Linked DNA regions of Homo sapiens: region 1 is linked to region 2. Evidence: promoter capture Hi-C in 16 types of primary human blood cells and fetal thymus (Javierre and others, 2016). All regions are on one chromosome and are shown on one strand. The core of a region is centred on a gene start or on the middle of the fragment in contact, and the rest is flanking DNA. Distances in the headings are between cores, read along the strand shown.

What was found. Contacts are between HindIII fragments. The CHiCAGO score rates a contact against its expected background, and 5 or more counts as called.
Region 1: a fragment that was not itself captured here is called in contact with the fragment with the promoter of URB1 in region 2 in 1 of 17 cell types (total B cells); the score reaches 6.1 in total B cells.

What each region holds. Positions count from the first base shown.
Region 1 is chr21:31,770,079-31,776,146 of GRCh38, reverse strand. No RefSeq gene overlaps it. Among named protein-coding and RNA genes, the nearest start is that of SCAF4, 41 kb to the right of the region's middle. RefSeq lists an enhancer at 3,034-3,323. The HindIII fragment of the contact is 1,961 bases long and covers 3,263-5,223 here.
Region 2 is chr21:32,388,063-32,394,535 of GRCh38, reverse strand. URB1 (URB1 ribosome biogenesis factor) reads left to right here and starts at 1,524. Exons shown (of 39, transcript NM_014825.3): 1 at 1,524-1,767. The coding sequence starts at 1,626. URB1-AS1 (URB1 antisense RNA 1 (head to head)) reads right to left here and starts at 1,403. Exons shown (of 1, transcript NR_026845.1): 1 at 576-1,403. RefSeq lists enhancers at 922-1,171, 694-1,475, 1,322-1,616, 1,476-2,258. The HindIII fragment of the contact is 11,778 bases long and covers 1-6,473 here.

The sequences.
Region 1 (6,068 bases), core at 2,994-5,493, 620 kb after region 2:
AAGACAGTTCCTGGCACAATGTAATACTAGCATTGGCTGATGTTACAAGGCCAGAGCTGCCAGACTGGGAAGGGTCTTCCAGTTAGACAGAGGTGCTATGGGAAAAGGCAAGTTTTCCTAGAGGTGGTTTATTTGTGTATTTTTTCATTACAAAATATGTCATGCAAAGTAAAGAATACTTATGTATGCAGGTGTTTGTGTGTAGTCAGATGCAAGATTTGCAGGATAATAATAAAATGAATCCTTAGGGACCTATTACCCAGCTTAGGCAACTGAACATCACCAAAGAAGTAAACCCTTGCAGTCCCCTCCCTGGTCTCTGTCCCTCCCATCCCCTCAAAGGAAACCACTCAGTCTGATTTAGACACTCATCATTCTCTTGTTTATTTTGATAGTTTAACTGCATTTGTCTGTTCCCCACAGACACTGTTTAGTTCACCTATTTCCAAACCTTATATAAATAGGATCTTACTGTGCATATTTTTCCATGACTTTCCTTCTTCATTCAACTTTGTGTTCTAGAGATTCACCCACAGTGAGGTGTTGGCTCTGGTTCATTCATCTCCATTGTTCTCTAGCACCACTAGAGAACATATCATCTCCATTGTTCTCTAGCACCACTAGAGAACATATCTCATACTTTTTCATCTGATTAACGAAACTTTGGATTGATTTCCATATTTCTGCTCTAATAAAAATGCTGCCAGGATGTTCTTATGTGTGTTGTCTGTTGAGAACGTGCAAGGGCTTCTGGATGGCAGGGCGCCTCCAGCTTTCCTAGGTTCTCTGAAATTGTTTTCTGAAATGATCTAATGGACTCACTGTCCCCCTAGTTGTGTACACATGTTCCCTTTATTCATATTTCTTACTCTGGAAACTTCCAAAGGACTGACCAGATAAAAGCTAGGTTTAGGGAAGATCCATTAGGTGAGGGGAGGGGGGGTTAGAGGGGAGAAGCCCCTTACCAGGTAAGATGGACAAGAGGCCAGAGGACATCAACAGGTGCATCCCTACAGAGACCCGAGGGCCTAGCAAGACACGGCCTCCTTTTTGGGCAGAATTCCTACAGTTTCTCTTTTGTGTATGAGTTGGTATCCACCAATAGAATCCACAATCTTTGGAATGCACCCAACAGGATGCATGGCTTGCAAAAAAGCAAAGAGTTACATACTTGAAAATTCTAATGTATTTCCCTGTGTCTGGTAAAAGGATCTGGCCCCAGGAAAAGTACTGTGCATCTTCAAATCTAACCCTCTTTGTCTGTAAATTGGACATCATTATCTGCCTCCACAGAACTGTTGTGTGGCTTGGCAGATCATTAATGGTAATGGGTCCTTGGTCCCTGTAAAACCAGATGTAAATGCTGAGTGCTGCTTATAGTAGGAACAGGTTACGCATATAGTAGGGTGGAAGCACAATCCAACAGGACTAGCCTAAATGTTACTTTTCAGAGACAACTTGAATCTCACTAAATTTTAAACAGGTTAGTTTCGTATCAACAGGACTTTTCCCAAGCCATCAGTTTCCTTTGCCTCCTACACAACCAAGCAGGACTGCCCCAGGGGAGGAAGGCAGAAATCATGGACAAGTTTCCTGAGAGGCCACATCCGCCTGTTCAGGCCTTGCCACCTCACTGCATGAAGGGACACGGCCTCATGTGCATCAGCTGTCATATCTTGGGTTTCTTGGTATTCAAGAAATGCTTTCTTTTCTTTTCTTTCATTTTATTTATTGATTAATTGATTGATACAGTGTCTCTCTCTGTCACCCAGGCTGGAGTGTAGTGGCGCAATCTCAGCTCACTGTAGCCACTACCTTCCAGGATGAAGCCATCCTCCCACCCCAGCCTCCCAAGTAGCTGGGACTACAGACCCATGACATCACTCCTGGCTAATTCATAGAGATGGGGTGTCCTATATTGCCCAAGCTGGTCTTGAACTCCTGGGCTCAAGCAATCTGCCTACTTCAGCCTCCCAAAATGTTGGGATTAAAGATGTGAGCCACCATGCCTGGTGTAAGAAATGGATCTACCAAGTTCAGGCTATTTTGTAATAATTTTCATTGTGTATGTGTGGTTTTTGGTTTTGCTTTTTGCTTTTTGGGTTTGTTTTTTTTTTTTTTTGAGTCAGAGTCTTGCTCTGTTGCCCAGGCTGGAGTCCAGTGACACAATCATAACTCACTGCAACCTCAAACTCCTGGGCTCAAGCAATTCTCCCACCTCAGCCTCCCAAGTAGCTAGGACTACAAGTGTGCACCACCATGCCCAGCTAATTTTTAAATTTTTTTGTAGAAGTTGAGGGGTGGGGGGTTGGGGGGGGGCTCTCACTGTGTTGCTCAGGCTCGTCTTGAACTTCTGGCCTCAAGCAATCCTCCTGCCTTAGCCTCCTGAAGCCCTGAGATAACAAGCATGAGCCACCACACCTGGCTAATTTTTAGTTGTTTAGACTGTCTTGTCCTCAAGGCAACAATCTATTGCAGCTGATTCACGAGGCTCACACCTTTGTAAGTTTTGTGATAATAACTGAGGGCCAGGTTGCAGCCTGAGGCTTCTTGGGTCTGGCTTCCTGTCCTTTCCACAGGTCCTAGGTGCCTCTCCCACCATGCACAAGGCCCTGATCCAGTCCTAGGACAGTTGGCTAAAGAGCCTGTCAGCTAATGCTCAGCCTTTTCCAGCTGTTTACCCCATTTTTCTCATGTGTTGACTAACACTTCCTGCCCCCAAAACCTGTCAGCTCCAAGATGTACTCCACAATCGTTCTGTCTCCCATCTGTCCATCTGGGGCCCAGGGGACACAGCAAGAGTCTCAAAAGGCCCATTTGCATCTCACCCACATCAGTAGAGCAAAAAGGGGGCATTGCTGTAATAAAGAAATAATTGAAGGTAGAAAGTGCTAAAGCAAAAGGGGAAAGGAAGATTATCCAAATGCAACTAAATATAGATTCTACTGTGGGTCATGTTGCTGAGGTGCAGACATTTACAGCAGGTGTTCAGTTTTGCTTAACGCAAGACTCTTTGCAATCATTTTTAAGTAGTACAGTGAAAGGGCCCTTAGGGAAAGAGCTCCCCTTGTTCTCACTTTGCAGATGTAGAGGCCTGAGAAGCAGGGAGGTGAAGTAGTTCACCCACGATCCCACAGCTGCTAAGTGCCAGGGCTAGGACTCCATCCCAGGGCTTGGGACAGTCAAACAGGGCCTCTTTCAACAAGCCCGTATTGTCTCTCAGCAAAGATCTATAAAAAGCTGGATGATAATAAAATAAGCTTATGCAACACTTTTGCCTAATGCAAATTAAGAAATTGATTTCAGGAACAGAAACTTGGGTAGGGTTTGCCCACATACAAACAACACTAAAGAGAAAGTTGACTACTTAAAATAGAAGACACTGTTCTCTCATGTGACTGAAAGGATTATTTCTATTCTGAAAAACTGAGAGGTTGCCTGTCATAAAGTCGTGTCCTCAAATTCAGAAACTTTAAAGTTTAATGCGGCCCAACGCATTGACTCACACCTGTAATTCCAACACTGGGAGTCCAAGGTGGGAGCTTGAGCCCAGAAGTTCGAGACCAGCCTAGGCAACATGGCAAGACACCGTCTCTACAAAAAAAATTTTTTTTAATTAGCTAGGCGTGGTGGCACATGCCTGTAGCCCAAGCTACTTGGGAGGCTAAGGCAGGAGGACCCCTTGAGCCCAAAAAGTCAAGGTTGCAGTAAGCCATGATCACACCACTGCAACCCAGCATGGGTGACAGAGTGAGACCCTGTCTCAAAAATTAAAGTTTAAAAATAAAGTTTTTTAAATAAAAAAAAAAAGTCTGGCCAGGAGCGGTGGCTCACACGTATAATCCTAGCACTTTGCGAGGCCGTGGTGGATGGATCACTTGAGCTTAGGAGTTCAAGACTAGCCTGAGTAACATGGCGAGACCCCATCTCTACAAAAAAATACAAAAAAAATTAGCCAGGCATGGTGGCACACACCTGTAGTCCCAGCTACTCAGGAGGCTGAGTTGGGAGGATCTGACCTCTTGAGTCCTGGAGGTCTAGGCTGCAGTGAGCCAAGATTGCACCACTGCAGTCCAGCCTGGGTGACAAAGTGAGACCCTGTATCAAAAAATATATATACATATATATATAAATGTTTAAAAGCCTAATGTAAGTGTCTCCAGTATACTGTAAGTAAAGTGACTTGTGTTTGTGAATTTAATCACTTGCAAAACACATAGTCATTCTCTCACTTGTCTTTACAATAACTCTGTGAGGAGCTGAGCATCAATCAGTGTCATCATTATCTCCATTCCACAAATAAGGAGATGGCGGCTCAGAGAAACTAAATGAATTCTCAATATCATGCAGCTGAACCTTGAACCTCAGGCTGCTGAATTCTTTTTATAAGGTATGGTAGAAGGGAATTCAAGCTCGAAGTCAGGAAGACGGATATGAGTCCTGACTTGGCCACTTACTTGGTCTCTGTCATTGAACAACTTATTTACCGCACAGAGCCTCAGCTGATGCATCTGTAAAATAGGGAGAATCACACCTGTGTGGTAGCTTTTATGAGTATTCAATGAAGCAATGTATGAAAAGCATCAAGGTCAGTGCCTGGCACAAACCAGGTTCTCAGACAAGTAATCCTTGCTATTGCTGATATATACAGCTTCTATTATACTATTTTGCAGCTTTTCCAGCTAGTCACGGCACAATACATGACTTAAAGACACAAAAGGGAGACTTCCTTTCCTCTGATCTCACTCCCTGATTCACTGGCCTGGCTTCTTATAAAGAAAGGTCTTGGCCTGGTTTAAGCAGAAATTCATTTACCAAAAGAATTAGTTGATGAAGGCCAGGCGCGGTGGTTCACGCCTGTAATCCCAGCACTTTGTGAGGCCGAGGCAGGCAGATCATGAGGTCAGGAGATCGAGACCATCCTGGCTAACATGGTGAAACCCCGTCTCTACTAAAAATACAAAAAATTAGCTGGGCGTGGTGGCGGGCGCCTGTAGTCCCAGCTACTTCGGAGGCTGAGGCAGGAGAATGGCGTGAACCTGGGAGGCGGAGCTTGCAGTGAGCCGACGTGCGCCACTATACTCCAGCCTAGGTGACAGAGCGAGACTCCGTCTCAAAAAAAAAAAAAAAAAAAGAATTAGTTGATGAGGTCACCAGTAAATGTAAAGCATTTCATTTATTCACACAATAAATGTTAATAAAGAGTGTACTATAACCCAAGCTTTAGGGAGACCATGTAGCACTTGGTAGGCACAGTCCCAGGCCTCAGGGAGCTGAAGTGATGGGGAAGGCAAACATCAAGCAAGTCACTGGCACCACCAACGTGATTCAGACACGTCTGATCACCCCCGATCACCTGGCATTTTCAGGGCTTAGAATCAGTAAACAAATAGAAACTCCTTAGTTCCCTGCTTTCTCCACTTCTCTGCAAATCATCACCAATTAAGTGCGCATTCAATAAAAGCAGAGAAAAACATTAAGTCCTTAGTGATTCCCATCACTGCTGCCCACATTTCATTGCTGAGAACTAATCACATGACCATAACTGGGCATGAAGAGGGTTGAGAAAATAGCCCTTGACTGGGCTGTCACTTTCCATGCTAGGAAAGGGAGGATGCATTTTTGGTAGCCAAATGGCATATACTTGGGAAAGACCATTGTGACTTTTCTGCCACAGCCAGAAAGAAGGCCAAACATATCAGCAATCCTAACACCTAATGAAAAGAACACAGGAAAGATGGAAAAGACATCGAAAAAGGCATGCTAGGCCGGGCGCAGTGGCTCACACCTATAATCCCAGAACTTTGGGAGGCTGAGGCAGGTGGATGACCTGAGGTCAAGGGTTCGAGACCAGCCTGACCAACACGGCGAAACCCCATCTCTATTAAAAATACAAAAATTATGTAATCTCAGCTACTCGGGAGGCTGAGGCAGGACAATCGCTTGAACCTGGGAGACGGAGGTTGCAATGAGCTGAGATCGCACCATTGCACTCCAGCCCAGGTGACAGTGTGAGACTCCGTCTCAAAAAAAAAAAAAAAAAAAACACAAAAATTAGGCCAGACACG
Region 2 (6,473 bases), core at 275-2,774:
GCCCAAGGTCACACAGGCAGAAACTGAACTCAGGGCTTTTGACTGTTTCCTAACTCTTTCTGATAACTTTTTGGTTGGGACCACCATGGCAGAAAACAAAGTTGGTGGTTAGCGATTAACCAAAGAAGAGGACCAGTGTGGATAATCAGTCAGAATTAAGTCTGTATTCACTAATGAGTGTTGCCTTTTACAGATGACTTTTTGAGCATATTCCCCTCTCTTAACATTGCTGCATTAGCTCATATCTGCTAGGGGTGACACCCTCTCTCTGACCTGCCTACAACATAGACATCTCCACAGGCACAATCATCTTGTCGGGACAGAGGCTCAGCGTCAACACACGTGCTTTTTCTACTAGAAACTCTGAGACCCCAACAGGCCACAAAAGCCCACATCCTCAGATGTTCAAAACACATCTGCTTACAGAATATGAAACACAATTTTCTTAGACTAGAGGACAACCTGATGGAGAATTTCAGTAATCACCAAGTTACTTATCTAATGCGCTGGTTCATGATTTATTTGGACACATACCTAAGTATCGATGAAGTCGTATTAAAATATGTACCAGCCTGTTTTTACTTATTTTTACTTTCATTTTATTTCAGAGCATTTAATGCGGTTTACAAATCAATCACATCTTCCAAAAACACACTGTGTTGTTTTTCTCCTCAAAGCAGTTTTTCATACATTGCATCATTTTCTGTTCATAACAGTCCCAAGGACTGGATAGGGTCGGCTTTGCTGTCTCCATTTTAATGACAGGAACTTAGATGTGGAGGCCTTACGCTGTCCAGGAAGGGGTTTTACAGACGTTACTTCGTTTGGTCTTCTCCTCCCACCCTGCACGGCGCAAAGAGCCCATCAGTTTGCGGAAGTCTGGGGTGGAGGACAGTCTGGAGTGACAGGCTGCTACCAGACCAGTCGATCTGGTTCGGGCTGTGACATAAGCTAGGGGTCGAAGTCAGGGGCACCCGCACAGGCGGACCTGCCTGGCACCTAGCCAAGGCGAATCCACCTTCCCGGCCAGCCACCAGGGCCTTGAATTGGCAAAGTATCGAATCCTGTTGTGTGTGAAGCAAGCTCTTCATGCGACACCTTCAGGGCGACCTCGGGTCAAGAACTACTCATTGTGCTGCTTGGACGCGCCGGGGCCCGAGTCTTCGTGGATCGGCCAGGCCAGGAGTGAAAGGTCTGGGAGTTCTTCCGGCCAAGAGCACCCGAAGAGCCACTGGGATCAGAAATGCGCCCCGGTGGACCCCAAACCCTGCAGCCGGGGGCGGGGGGTGTCGTGGAGTGTCCGCTCGCCCCATGCCGTGACCGGGACAACCGGTACAGCAAACTCACATGGAGCCCCAAGACTCTGGATCCCCAAGACTCTGGATCCCTATCGCCCCGCCCCTTCTGCAGGCCACGCCCCTTCCGCCGGTCCCAGCCTCGCGCGGGTCGGCCCCTTCCGCCGGCCTTTCCCCGAGCCCCGCCTCTTCCGCCAGCCCCGCCTCTTCCGCCAGCCCCGCCTCTTCCTGCGCCATGTGGGCCTGAAGCGCGTGTCTGCTGTCTGTGCCAGTGCTCCTGCCGGGTCCCCTCAGGTGTGTCGTTTCCGTCGCGCTTCCGCCCTCTCGGCCATGGGGGTCCCCAAGAGGAAGGCCTCGGGCGGCCAGGACGGCGCGGCTTCCTCCGCGGGTGCAGCCAAGCGCGCCCGCAAAGAAGAGCTCACGGGCGTGCGGTTCAAGGCTCAGCTGAAGGACCCGCAGGGCCCCGGGCCAGGTGAGTCCGGGGCGGCAGGCGCAGGGTCGGGAGCACAGGCTGGCGAGGCGGCCTCCGTGTGCCGGGCACAGCCTCTCCTTTCTGCAGCTTTCGGGTCACATAGGCTCAGTGGCAAGCCTCTGGTTTGCAGAAAACTGAGGTTCAGGACTGCTGTGTACTTCCTTGCTCTGGACTGTCGGCGACAGCGAGAGGGCCCCGACTTGCTTGATTGGGACCGTTTCATGTTACAACACATTTATTTCCCTTGCCCAGGCAGCATCCCTCAGCGAGCTCTAAAACCTCTTTATTGCAGTTGTCAGGGAAGTAAATGAAGTGTCCTTCTCTATTGAGTCCTTACTGAGTCGGCTCAGGACGGTTCATGAGACAGTTTGCTACTCCTTGGGCCGTCAGCACCGTTTTCAATAGCTTCCATCCCCCAACACTCATACTGACTTGATGACTTGTAACAAGCTACTAGAAGCCACCACAGCTACTTGTCAGTTGACCAGGAATGGGCCAGTGACTGAGATGTAGCCGACTCTATAATTTAATTACACTTTTTGTAAAGTGTGACCACCCTTCGCGACTACTTGTAATCGTTTGGAAAGTAACATGGTTTGGGAAAAACGCAATTGAACGTGTTGCCATGTGGAAGCATTGCTCTAAAATAAAACAGTGGCAGTTTTTCTCCCAGGTTAAATAAACGATTAAATTAATGGCCAAAATATCTTCAACTTCCAATTTTTGTCCTCATTTTTTTTTTTAAACGACAGGGTCTTGCTCTGTTGCCCAGGCTGAAGTGCAGTGGCACTATCATAGCTCACTGCAGCCTTGAACTTCTGGGCTTAAGCTGTCCTCCCACCTCAGCCTCCCAAGTAGCTGAGATTGTAGGTGCACAACACCATGCCCAGCTATGTTTTTTTTTTTTTTTTTACTTTTTGTAGAGATGGAATCTCACTATGTTGTCCAGGCTGCCCTCGAACTCCCAGTCTCAAGCAATCTTCCCACCTTGTCTTCTCAAAGGGCTGGGAGTATAGGTATGAGCCACCACACCTGGCCTGTTTTTAAACTTTGATACCTATACCTGTACTTGCTAGTCACAGCTAGGAAGATGATACTTAGTTAGCATAGAGTTATTTATTTCCGAATTCATTAAGTATTACTAGAGGCTATTATTTGCTACGGTAGAGATAAAGTGATGAATAAAAATGTCAAAAAGCCTCTGCCATTGTGGGGTTTACAAACAGTCGAGTGGGGCAGGCAGATATTGGTCAGTAAAATCACATACATACAGTTTCAAGCACGAGTTTTCCAAAGGAGAGGTACATGGTGCCTGAGGGTGTTTAACAGACCTTGGATCTAATCTGGGAGCTCAAAGAAGGCTCCCCTGAGGAAGTGGCTTTTCTTTTCTTTTTTTTTTAATCATACTTTAAGTTTTAGGGTACATGTGCACAACGTGCCCCTTTGTTACATATGTATACATGTGCCATGTTGGTGTCCTGCACCCATTAACTCGTCATTTAACCTTAGGTATATCTCCTAATGCTGTCCCTCCCCCCTCCCCCCGACCCGACAACAGGCCCCGGTGTGTGATGTTCCCCTTCCTGTGTCCATGTGTTCTCATTGTTCAGTTCCCACCTATGAGTGAGAACATGCGGTGTTTGGTTTTTTGTCCTTGCGATAGTTTGCTGAGAATGATGGTTTCCAGCTTCATCCATGTCCCTACAAAGGACATGAACTCATCGTTTTTTATGGCTGCATAGTATTCCATGGTGTATATGTGCCACATTGTCTTAATCCAGTCTATCATTGTTGGACATTTGGGTTGGTTCCAAGTCTTTGCTATTGTGAATAGTGCCACAGTAAACGTACGTGTGCATGTGTCTTGATAGCAGTATGATTTATAATCCTTTGGGTATATACCCAGTAATGGGATGACTGGGTCAAATGGTATTTCTAGTTCTAGATCCCTGAGGAATCGCCACACTGACTTCCACAATGGTTGAACTAGTTTACAGTCCCACCAACAGTGTAAAAGTGTTCCCATTTCTCCACATCCTCTCCAGCACCTGTTGTTTCCTGACTTTTTAATGATCGCCATTCTAATTGGTGTGAGATGGTATCTCATTGTGGTTTTGATTTGCATTTCTCTGATGGATCTAATTAAACTAAAGAGCTTGTGCACAGCAAAAGAAACTACCATCAGAGTGAACAGGCGACCTACAGAATGGGAGAAAATTTTTGCAATCTACTCATCTGACAAAGGGCTAATATCCAGAATCTACAATGAACTCAAACAAATTTACAAGAAAAAAAAAAACCCCATCAAAAAGTGGGCAAAGGATATGAACAGACACTTCTCAAAAGAAGACATTTATGCAGCCAAAAGACACATGAAAAAATGCTCATCATCACTGGCCATCAGAGGAAGTGGCTTTTCAAAAGGATTGTAGGATGGGACAGGGACAGGAACCTTACTGGCAGAAGAAAGAGCACGTTTAATTGTTAAAAAGATGTAGTATCTATATTTCATGGTCTTGCACAGAGAGCCTCATGACATTCAGGTGCTACATCATTTGAACACATGTCAGAAGGAGACCCAGGTTGACAGGGCATGGGTGTAGGTGAGTAGTTGAAAGATGGGGCAAAGCTGAGTCAATGGGTGAAAGTGTGGATCCCTTGTTTGAGGCTGTGTTGAACTTGTGTTTGAATCTGGTCTGTATCTTGGATTCTCTCCTCCTCTCTTCCTCTTTATACGCTCTCATAACCTATGATAGGATTGCTGGAAGATCAGGGAAGTGAAGTTGATGGCTGTTAGGAGACTTTGTTTTCACCAGGCATGTGAGGGAAGGGTTCTGATGATGCTCCCTTCGTGTAGTGGAGGAACAAGAGCTGCCAGGTTAGATTGGTAAGGACTGAGGATATTCCAGAGTGGATCAGTGTCAGCCTGTGGGAAGATCCCCCATCAAGAAGGGTTTGGCTCTAAGCCAGTTCCTTTGAAAGTGTTTGCCCACGACTCCACTGGTGATAGAGAAAAGGCCATACTGTAAGAGAGTACACTAATGGTTAAACTCTTGATCTCCTTCTCCCCACATTGCTTCTGGTTTCCCCACTGCATAAGTGGTAATTCTGATTAGCTGGATGTTCCTGCCAGAACCCTCCGTCTGCATCAGTCTGTCCCCTGGCCTTGGTGGTTGATTCTCCTCCTGAGAATTTCTGGAATCTGTCTGCTCCCCCTCTTTCCTTCATCATCATTCTAGTCCAGGCATCATCAGTCCCTGCTGGGACCGTGGCTGGAGTTGCCCAGAGTTGGTCTCTCTTGCTGTTGCTTCCCTGCAGCCCGTGCTGTGTGCAGCAGTCAAATGATCCTTCAGAGCTCCAAATCTGATTATGTCACTCCTCTCATGACACCCTTCAGTGGTATCCCACTGCCCTTAGGATAAAATCCAAAGTCATTTCCATTGCTTCATCTAGCCCTGCCTGCTTCTTTGACTTCATCTCAGGCTGCCCTCCCCCACTCACTCAGTCACCCCTCCCCACTCACCTGGCTCCAGTGTACCCTCCAGCCTTGGGGCCTGGAATGTGGTCTCACCCTCTGCCCCCTCAATACTTACGTTTACTATTATTAATAATAGGTTCAGCATTACTTCTTCAAAGGAAACCTTCCCAACCCTCTAATCTAGATCATGTTCCCTAGGTACAGTCCTCATTATACTCTTGATGTTTGCTTCATAGCACTTACTACAGGTGCTATACGTGTCTATGTAAGTGATTGCGGTAGGTGCTTAATAAATACTCACATTGGTCTCTATCATTAGATTGTAAGGACCATGTGGGTAGAGGCCATTTCTAATTTGCTCATCAGCACGTCTCGGGCACCCCCTGTAGGTGCACCTGGTAGGTGCCCAGTAAATGGTGTATGGAAAGATGAACCTGTAAAGACGGCAAACATAACAGGCCAGCAGTTTCCACCCTGTAATACTCTGGAATGCTCAGAGTTACATGCTAGAGTTTGACGAATAATTCCTTAAAAAAGAGTGAGTAGTTGCACTGCTCTTTCTGTATTAACAGCCCTTGCTATCACTTGCATTCTGTGTTTTCTTGAGGGACAGAGTAGGTATGCATAACTCCAGGGTGCCTGTGCCGACTGAGCTCCTGTAACTCACAGTCACCTTGGTCAGAACACCCATGGCCTGCTCATAATCACCACCAGACCACGCTGCAGACGGCAGCAATGGAGTCTGGCCCCGAAGCTCAGAGCAGCGCCTGGCATAGCAGATGCACTTGCTCAGTGACTGTTAAAGGAATGGCGGTGGTTGCTGCGGAAAATGTTGCAGCATAAAAGGGGATCTGAAAACACCTGTGAGGCTGGCAGAGGCCGAATGTGACTGGATTTTCACTGCTGCTGCTGAGGACACCCGGGGGGCTGCTTATGTTTTGAGGGTTTACCTTGACCTAAGTGTGATGCTGGATGCTTTATGTGTAAATTAGCCTTTTTACGCTTCATACAAACCCTGTCAGGTAGGTTCTGTTCTTGTTCCGTTATACAGGTGAGGTACCCAGAGCTCAGAGTTCAGTGCCTTACTGAGTACCATGCAGCTAGTAAGTGACTGAGCGGGGATTTGTGCCCAGGAGTCTGGCTCCAATTTTGTTCTTTTCTGGTATGTTTTTGGTGTAATGGCGTGCTCATGCGTCCCCGGCAGATGTGGCTTAGCAGCGTCAGGACT